Regions from separate parts of the Homo sapiens genome. Here regions 1 and 2 are each linked to region 3. The links are contacts of gene promoters, found by promoter capture Hi-C in blood cells and fetal thymus (Javierre and others, 2016). All regions are on one chromosome and are shown on one strand. Each heading gives the region's core, a stretch centred on a gene start or on the middle of the fragment in contact. The rest is flanking DNA. Distances are from core to core; before and after follow the strand shown.

The links. The method cuts DNA at HindIII sites, captures the fragments that hold promoters and counts their contacts. A CHiCAGO score of 5 or more calls a contact.
Region 1: a fragment that was not itself captured here is called in contact with the fragment with the promoter of FNDC5 in region 3 in 4 of 17 cell types (endothelial precursors, erythroblasts, neutrophils and 1 more); the score reaches 9.3 in endothelial precursors.
Region 2: a contact is called between a fragment that was not itself captured here and the fragment with the promoter of FNDC5 in region 3, in 1 of 17 cell types (endothelial precursors). The highest score is 5.2, in endothelial precursors.

What each region holds. Positions count from the first base shown.
Region 1 is chr1:33,067,833-33,070,753 of GRCh38, forward strand. No RefSeq gene overlaps it. Among named protein-coding and RNA genes, the nearest start is that of AZIN2, 12 kb to the right of the region's middle. The HindIII fragment of the contact is 9,006 bases long and covers 1-2,921 here.
Region 2 is chr1:33,114,694-33,117,752 of GRCh38, forward strand. All of the region lies in intron 10 of AZIN2 (antizyme inhibitor 2), which reads left to right. Among named protein-coding and RNA genes, the nearest start is that of AZIN2, 35 kb to the left of the region's middle. The HindIII fragment of the contact is 1,356 bases long and covers 670-2,025 here.
Region 3 is chr1:32,869,287-32,872,515 of GRCh38, forward strand. FNDC5 (fibronectin type III domain containing 5) reads right to left here and starts at 1,626. Exons shown (of 6, transcript NM_001441683.1): 1 at 1,367-1,626. The coding sequence starts at 1,604. The HindIII fragment of the contact is 9,260 bases long and covers 1-3,229 here.

The sequences.
Region 1 (2,921 bases), core at 17-2,516, 200 kb after region 3:
AGAGCTACAGATGACCATTGCCTTGCTCAACCAGGAGAAGAAGGCACTGCATTTAATGTTACCATAGGTTATAAATACCCACCTCTGTGCCTCAGACACGCACCTGGTTGTATCCATCTAAAAACTCAAGTCTAGGCTGCTTATCTTCCGGAGAGATCAGCTACAGAAGAACCAGGACATTTAGTCTCTGGCCACTCACTTTCTCCTTTAAAACAAATGAAAGGGGGAATAATGGGAGGTACCCCATACTTTCAATATAAACCTGCAGGAAAACCATGCCCTAAAAATTTTGAGGGCCCATCTAAAACTTTAATTTGGGAAGATTGTGTTAACTCACATGCAGTAATATTAAAAAATGACTCATACGGTTTAGTAATAGACTGGGCACCAAAGGGCTATTTAAAAAACAATTGCTCCTCTGGTGGAAAGGAATGCCTGGAGGCTACTTATTTTATTTCTTGTCAGGAGAATGAGAATCATCATTCCACTTTGCATAGGAGGTTCAGCTCATTCTTTCCCCTAAAATGGGAAGATAAAGGCACCTTTTCTAACCTTGTTTATGACACAGAGACATTTGTTCACATGTTTTCCTGCTGACCCTCTCCCCACTATTACCCTATTGTCCTGCCACATCCCCCTCTCCGAGATGTCAGAGATAATGATCAATAAATACTAAGGGAACTCAGAGACCGGTGCTGGTGCAGGTCCTCCTGGTGCAGGTCCTCCATATGCTGAGCGCCAGTCCCCTAGGCCCACTTTTCTTTCTCTATACTTTGTCTCTGTGTCTCTTTCTTTTCTCAGTCTCTCGTCCCACCTGACGAGAAACACCTACAGGTGTGGAAGGGCAGGCCACTCCTTCAGAAACACATTCTAGACAAAATACACATGGACATATTTAGGTGTAAAGTGGCTTTATGTCTGCAACTTACTCTCCAACAGTTTAGAAAAAATAAATAATTTATCCCTCTGTCTATCCATATCTATCCATCCATGTATTCACAAACACACAAATATATATATTTGAATGGAAAGCAAAATTGTCAACATGTTAACATTTGGGGAATCTGGGTGAAAGATATATACTATTTTTGGAAAGTTTCTGTATGAATTTCAAGATAAAACTTTTTTTAAAAAAAGGATTTATAGGTCGGGTGCAGTGGCTCATGCCTGTAATCCCAGCAGTTTGAGAGACTGAGGCAGGCAGATCACTTGAGGTCAGGAGTTCAAGACCAGCCTGGACAACATGGTGAAACCTCATCTTTACTAAAAATACAAAAAACTAGCTGGGCATGGTGATATGAACCTATAATCCTAACTACTCAGGAGGCTGAGGCATGAGAATCGCTTGAAACCGAGAGACAGTGAGGCGAGATTGTGCCACTGTATTCCAGCCTGGGCGACAGAGCAAGACTCCGTCTCAACAACAACAAAAAAAAGCAAAAAGGATTTATATTATTATATTTTTAAAAAAGCATTTCAGGCAGAAGGGGTAGCCTGTGCAAAGATCCTAAGGCAAAAGAGTGCCCTGGGGCTGGGTGCAGTGGTGGGGGGATTACTTAAGCCCGGGAGTCCAAGACTAGCCTGGGTAACATAGGGAGACCCTCTTCTCTACAAAAAAATTTGAAAACTAGCTAGGCATGGTGGTGCATGCCTGTAGTCCCAGCTACTCAGGAGGCTAAGGTGGGAGGATCATTAGAGCCTGGGAGATAGAGGGTGCAGTGAGCCGTGATTGTGTCACTGCACTTCGGCCTGGGGGACAGAGCAAGACCCTGTCTCAAACAAAAACAAAAAGAAAAAACAACCCCCAAACAACAACAGCAACAAAATAAACAAACAATAATAAAAGACAAAAAGAGTGCCCCAGTACGTAGGGCAACACTCAGGGTGCTGATAAACAGAATAAGAGAATCCATCGGCATTTTTTTCCTGGCTAGAATTCATCCCCCCTTTTCACGTTACAACACCCCATTTTTCTACTGGAGAACCATACCTTCCCCACTCTCATTCTATATTGTAAGAATGGGGCTGATCTCATCTTGGGCAAGGGGCTCAAGCCCCAGGTCTGGCCAATCAGAGATGTGCACATCAAGGAACCTGGCCTAGGAGGCAGTGGCTGGGGTCCAGGGTGGATTGGAGGATAAGCGTGTGTGGTGGGGGGGGGTTGCTGAGAGCCTGCCTGAGGTAGAAGCCCACTCCAAGGAAGGCAGCACTGAGACTCGAAGCAGAACAGATCCCAGTGACATTTTTGAGCTCTTGGATTTAGTCTTTGTGTCAACTTTTATCCCTCAGTGACTTTGTCACATAAGGCAATGAATGCCCTTTTTGCTTGAGACAGTTTGAGTTGGGTTTTCCCCTACTCAAAATGAAGAAATGCGTTTAGTGATCCAAAGCGTCAGGGACAGCCTCTCTGAGGAAAGGACATTTCAGCCAAGACCTAAAGGATGAGCAGCAGTTGGTCAGGTGAAGAGGTGGAAAAAATGTCCCAGAGGAACAGCAAGTGCAGAGGTCCCAAGAAAGGAAGAAACATGGCAGGTTCAATAAATTGGAAATGCTGGGTGTGGTGGCTCATACCTGTAGTCCCAGCTACTTGGGAGGCTGAGAGGGGAGGATCACTGGAGCCCAGGAGTTCGAGACCATCCTGGGCAACATAGTTAGACCCTCATCACTAAAAAAAAATTAGCCAGGCATGGTGGCACATGCCTGTAGTCCCAGCTACTTGGAGGCTGAGGTGGAAGGACCCTTGAGCCCAGGAGTCTGAGGCTGCAATGAGTTGTGATTGTGCCACTGCCCTCCAGCTTACATGTAGGTGTGAGAGAGAGGCCTATCTCAAAGAAGAAGAAGGAGAAAGAAGAAGAAGAGAGGTAGCAGCAGCAAGAAGAAGAAGAGGAGGAAGAAGAGAAAGAAGAAGAAGAGGAAGAAGA
Region 2 (3,059 bases), core at 98-2,597, 250 kb after region 3:
TCACCCAGGCTGGAGTGCAATGGCTGGATCTTGGCTCACTGCAACCTCTGCCTCCTAGGTTCAAGCGATTCTTCTGCCTCAGCCTCCTGAGTAGCTGGGATTACACGCCCAGCTAATTTTTGTATTTTTAGTAGCGACAGGGTTTTGCCATGTTGGCCAGGCTGGCCTCAAACTCCTGACCTCAAGTGATGCGCCCGTGTCCGCCTCCTAAAGTGCTGGGATTACAGGCGTGAGCCACCGCGCCCAGCCTATTGATTTATTCTTTAAAAGTTGAAGAATTATTTAGGGATTCCATCAAGGCCGTGCACCTTTTTCAATGTTTGACCTTGTTTTTTCTGTGGCTCTGTCAGACATATGTGCCTTTGAAGAAGGCAGCTAGGTGCAGCCAGGAGGCTCCTTGTCTGGGACTGCCCAGAGTTCTACTAACTCCCCCTAGAGCCTTGGGCAGGTCACCTTCCCTCTCTGAGTTTTCTCATCTGTAAAATGGGAATGCAATCATGCCACCTGCCTCCCAGATAAGGTATGAAGTGGTGGTGGTATGCTTTGTAAATGAGGAACCCCCTGCCCTCTCTCACAGAGGGGCCTAGTGGCTGGCAGACTGGGCATCTTGGATTTTTGCAGATGCTTGTCCATTTCCACTCAGACTTGTAAAAATAGCTGAGATTTACAAGCTTGTTGCCACAGCTTTTAGAATATTTATTTCACAGATTCCTTAAAAAAAAAAAAATAGGCTGGGTGCAGTGGCTCACACCTGCAATCTCAGTACTTTGGAAGGCCGAGGTGGCGGATCACCTGAGGTCAGGAGTTTGAGACCAGCCTGGCCAACATGGCAAAATCCTGTATCTACTAAAACTACAAAAATTAGCCAGGTGTGGTGGCCGGCACCTGTAATCTCAGCTACTCGGGAGGCTGAGACAGGAGAATCGCTGAACCCAGGAGGCAGAGGTTGCAGTGGGCTGAGATCACACCACTACACTCCAGCCTCGATGACAGAGTGAGACTCTGTCTCAAAAAAAAGTTAAATAGATACATAAATAGTAAAAGCGTAGCTTTGCATTATGTCATGTGAAGATTTAAAATCTTTTTTCACCTAATTTTTTAAAATTTACACCACTAATAACAAGTGAGGGAATGCTAACTTCTTATAATCCAAGGGTGCCTTTTCTCTTTACCATGGAAGAATCTTTAAAATTTATTTTCCCAAAGATCCTTGTAGATTCATTTATAGAGCATCCCCTCCACTCATCTTTAAACATTAGCTTAATGTTTTTCAATGAGTGGGGCTAAGGGAAATAATTCAGACCACTTGAGGTTAATTTTATTCATCAACAAAAAGTTTATAAACAAGAATGTTCAGTTATATGAACAAGGATATACAGTATTCCTTTGTCTCCCCTTCTTAGAATGGGAGCTTCATGACCACAGGAATTTTATTTTGTGTGTGTGTTTACTGCTGCATCTCCAGCTCCTAGATCACAGCCTGGCAATTAGTAGGTGCTCAATAAGTACTTGTTGAATGAATGAATTCCTGAAGATTGGATAGCTATCATTCTTAACTTACATAATGTACATATTTTTCTTTATTAATGGGACTAATAGCTTATTAACTTTTTATCAAATATATGAGCACTATTTCTGCTTATGGAAACTGCGACTTTTCTTTCTCAATTTTACTCATTCCTGCTCTGGCTAAGGTATTGAAACGCCTTTCCTTTTTTCTCTGCTGGTCTTCTCTGTTGCTTCCATCTATGCCCTTTGGATGGCTTCCATTCATATCCTTTTTCTCCCCTTTGTCATTCTTTCTCTTTCTCATCACTCATATATTCCCCATTCTTTAATTCATTTATTTAAAAATATTATTTGAATAAGCACCTAATGGATGCCAGCCTGCTAGGCATTGAGGAGATGGGGATGACAAGACCTACACATCCCCTGGGCTCATGGAATTTATAGTCTTCAGGGAAGACAGGCCTGAGCAGATATTTCACAAATATTTATGAATTATGGTAAATACTACGAAAGCAAAGCTTGAGGGAGCATGGAGCTTTAGGAAAGGCTTCCCTGAAGCCATTTTAGCTGAGATCTAAAGGAGAAATAGGAATTTGCAAATTTGGGGCCTCAGGGAATAGCATGGGGGAAAGTAGGAGGTATGGGAAGGGAAGTAGGGTTTACCTGGGGAGCCCAGAGCAACTGGAGTAACTGGAGCACAGCAAGTGCAGTGATGGGAGAAGAGGCCTCTCAGAGGGCACAGTCATCATCATCCACATTTCAGTGGTGACTCTAGGATCTGCCTGGCAAGATCCCTGCCTACACTGTGGCAAATGGCACTGATAACTTGGTTGTCCAGAGTCTGTTACAAATTTCTGGATTTGGAAATCATTTAAGAAAAAATCTTAAATTTTATGTCATTGGTAGTTGTGTCTTTGGGCAAGTCATTTAAGCTGTCAGAGCCTCCATTTTTCTGAAATGGGAGTAATTGTGTCTACTCTGTGGGGTCCTCTGTGACCTCTGCCAGGTCCCCCTGTGATTGTTGTTGGAAGTCCATCTTTCTCATTAGACTGAGGGCCTGAGGGAGGGTGAGTCTAGCCTGGTATACTGCTGGCTCCTGTTGTGGGGCCTGGCATGGAGTGAGGACATCTGGGAGGGCTTCATAGACGAGGGAGCCCCAGGGCTGGGCTCAGAAGACAGGCTAGATTTGAGGGTCGGGGAAGGGCTGTAGAGGTGTGGACATATCGACGTCTGGAAAGAGGCCAGTGAAGACCAAAGTGCAGAGGTGGTAACAACAGCAATCACAACAATAAGTTACAATTGTGCTGACTTTCTGTGCACCCTCGCCGTGTGCCGCCACTGTTCTACATGCTCTCCATACACTAACTCATTTATCCTTGCAGTAACCTTACGAGGTAGGTACTGTTGTTATCCCCATTTTACAAATGAGCAAACTGAGACATGGAGAGATTAAGCATTTTGCCCAAGGTCACACAGCTAACAACTGCTGGAACCTGGATTTAAGGCCAGGCATTCGTGACTTCAGAGTGTAAGAGGCAACGAATGCAGAG
Region 3 (3,229 bases), core at 376-2,875:
TCTAAGGGATGGGTGGTTAGAGTTGTGGAGAGAGTTATGTAGGGGACATAGGTGGACAGAAACTGAAGGTTAGCTGATGAAAAGCAGACAAAAGGACTCCCCAGTCCAGTGCTCTTTTGACAATACTGCCCTGTCCAATGAGTGACCTTGCGCGAAGGAGAAAGACCCAGAGATCGAGAAGTGTCAGGCTGGGGTGAGCCCTGGACTGGGAGTGAGGAGAACAGAAGTATCCTCAGAGCTGTGGTGGCCCAGGCAGAATAAAGCCTGCGGAAGAGTCTGTGTGAGCCTCTTATCCATGCTCTTCCAGCCCCAAGATGCAGGTGGGGAGGTGGCAGGGGAAGATGGGGTCACTCAGAGCAGGGCCCCTCCATGGCGAGTGGAGAGGAGAGAACAGGTAGGGGAAGAGGATGAATGAGGAATCACTCCAGAAGAGACAGGAGGGAAGTGGGGGTGAGAGTGATAGGGATAGTGGGGGTCAGTGAGGAAAACCGTCCAGGAGAGGGGCAGTGCAGTCACATAAGGCTCAGTATCTTCCAAGGGGCAGGTGCAGCACGGGGCAGAGCTGCGCCTGAGCAGCACCCCTCACCCCACAGAGAGTGAACTTGAGACCCAGGGGGCTGGGCCTGGGACCTGAGGGAGACAGAGCCAGACATGGAGGGGGAGGTGGAGAGACAGGACACAGACAGGTGGTGGCAGACACAGAACCAGAGGACAGAGAAGTGGGGCATCTGAGAAAGACAGCTGCGAGAGAGCGCTCCCCGAGCCACGGAGGGAGAGATGAGCCGGGCAGCGGCAGCCAGGAGGGACAAAGACAGAGTGGCAGGAGAGGCTGGGCAAGGACGGGCCGGCCCCATGGGGCAGGCCAGACACTGTACCAGATCAGGGGTGCCGGGGCCCACCCCACGCCCTGCGCCCTCAGGTGCCAGCCCCCATCCCCTTCACACGTGCTCCTGCACAGCGGGACCCCATCTGCCCCTGCAGAGTTGGCTTGCAGGGCTTTGAGAGGTCCTGGGGACACAGAGAGAGGCCCAGGTGGGGGAACTGGTGTCCTCAGCTGCTCCCTGGGTCAAAGAAGGGAGCTAGGGAAGCTGAGGCAAAGACCTGGGGTTAGGGGAATGGGATTAGGGGACTGGGGACCACAAGACCCTAGGAAACCCAGGGCTGAGGTGACAGGGGAGATTTGGAAACTGAAGGACAGGTCTGGGGGTCAAGGAGGTAGGAAGACGCTGGGGGCTGGGTTAGGGGAGCAGTGTTTGGGCCGAGACAGGAGTCCCTAGGGGGCAGAGAAAGGACCAGGGGACTCCCAGGTAGCTGGGCTCGAGAGGAGCCTGCCCCGGCGCCGGCCCCCCGCCCCGGGCCCCCTTACCCGCCTGCACCAGCGCGAAGCAGACGCAGCCCAGCCACAGGCGGAGCGCGGCGCGGGCGCGGGGCGGCCAGGCGCTCGGCGACCCGGGGTGTATGGTGGCTCCTCCGGCCGGCAGGCCCGGGGCGGCGCAGGGGGACGCGGCTCCGGCGCCCGGCGGCCGCTCGCGCTCGCGCTCCGGCCCCCGGCCCGGCCGGCCCGGCCGCTCCGGCCGCCCTGCGCCGCCCCGAGCCGCCTGCATGTCGGCTCCGCGGACAGCGACTCCCGCGCGGCGGCGGTGGCGGCGGCCGCGTCCACGTCGGGCGCCCGGGGGGCGGGGCGCCCCCGCTGCGGGGAGAGGTGCGGGGGCGGGGTGAGGACCGGAGGGCGCCCCCACTCCCGCCCCCGCTGCCTATTAGGTCCTCTGCCGGGGAGGAAGGGGCTTCGCGGACCCACGGCTCCCGCCCTCTCACCGAGCGGGAGCCCAGCGGGGTTCTCCGCGCCCCCGCCGCGGTCACTCTCTCTCCCGTGCACAGCCCTGACTTGGCTGCCGCTTTCTGCCCTTTCCCAGGGTAGAGAGAGGACAAGTGCCACCGAGATGCCCGTTTGTGCCCCCACCCCTAAGCGCGCCTCCCTTCCCTGGGCCTAGGGATCCCCTCATTCCACGGTAGACCCGAGGCCTTGCGGCTGGGGCAGACGGGAGCAGAGGGGAGAGATCACAGTAAGGCTGGGGTGAGCAGAGAGTGCTAAGTGGACACTAGGGCTCCGTGTTTCCAGTGGGGTTGGGAAGAGGCTGCTCTGTCTCACTGGAGAGTCCAGCTCTGTGACCCCAGGCCAGTCCTTTTCCTTCATTTTCATCCCCATAGTGAGGGCAGTAATGAGCGTCTACCAGGGGCCAGATACTATGCTGAGCTTTCTTTGCATTATGTGGCTTAATTCTCAGGGCAACCCTGTAAAGTCATACTCTGCACACTTTGCACAGGAGGAGCCTGCAGCTTGGACAGGCTACTTGACTTGTCCAGGGACCCGCAGCAGAGCCAGGATTTGAACACAGGCTGATCTGACTCCCAAAGCTGTGCTTAACTGAACTGTCTCCCCACCCAGAGTGACTTCACCCATCCGGAGATTCGTGAGACTCTAGAATTGGCCGGGGCCAGCTCCTCCCCAGCCAGAAAACAGTCTGCAGCAATCTCTAAGAGCATCTCTGAGAAGGGGAGTGGCTCCAGCCCCCTTCCCTCATCTCAGCCAGAGAAACAAGGTGGAGGAGAGAGGCATGGACCAGGGCTCAGGGCCTTTTGTCTCAGCAAGAACCCCTGAGCCCCCTCCCACGACTATCCGAAATTCCACTACTAGCGGGGCATTCCTTTGGGTCTTAAAGGTTTTCCAGAAGCCCTGGAAGGGCTAATTTTCTTTGGAAAGGAGACGTCTTGCAAAGTTCTGCCACAGAAACGTCTTCAGGGTCTTCCTCTCCATCCCCCTGGTTTTACATTAAGGAAGTGAGGTCTACCGATGGGAAGAGCTTGGTGCAGATTCACACAGTGGGTCAAGAGGAGCGATAGACAACCCTCCTCTCCTTATGCCCACCCAGGACTCCTTCGCTGGCCCTGTGTTCCTCCTTGGTCACCTTGGAAGGGGTGAGATGGAAGCGAGCTTAGGGGCTCTTGTTGAGCAGCAGAATTTTCCTGCCCATCCCCTCAGTGCCCCCAGACCTGCCCCACTCGGCAGGGTGACACTGCCCAGCCCTATCATTTCCCCCGCCACATACCTTGTCCTGGGAGAGCCTCAGCTGGGACCTCGACCCGTTTGGGAGAAGAGCCCCGGAGCCAGAGCACCTCTCTCTCTCTTTTCTCTTTGCTCTCTTTCTCTTTCTCTCCCCTTATTATCTTC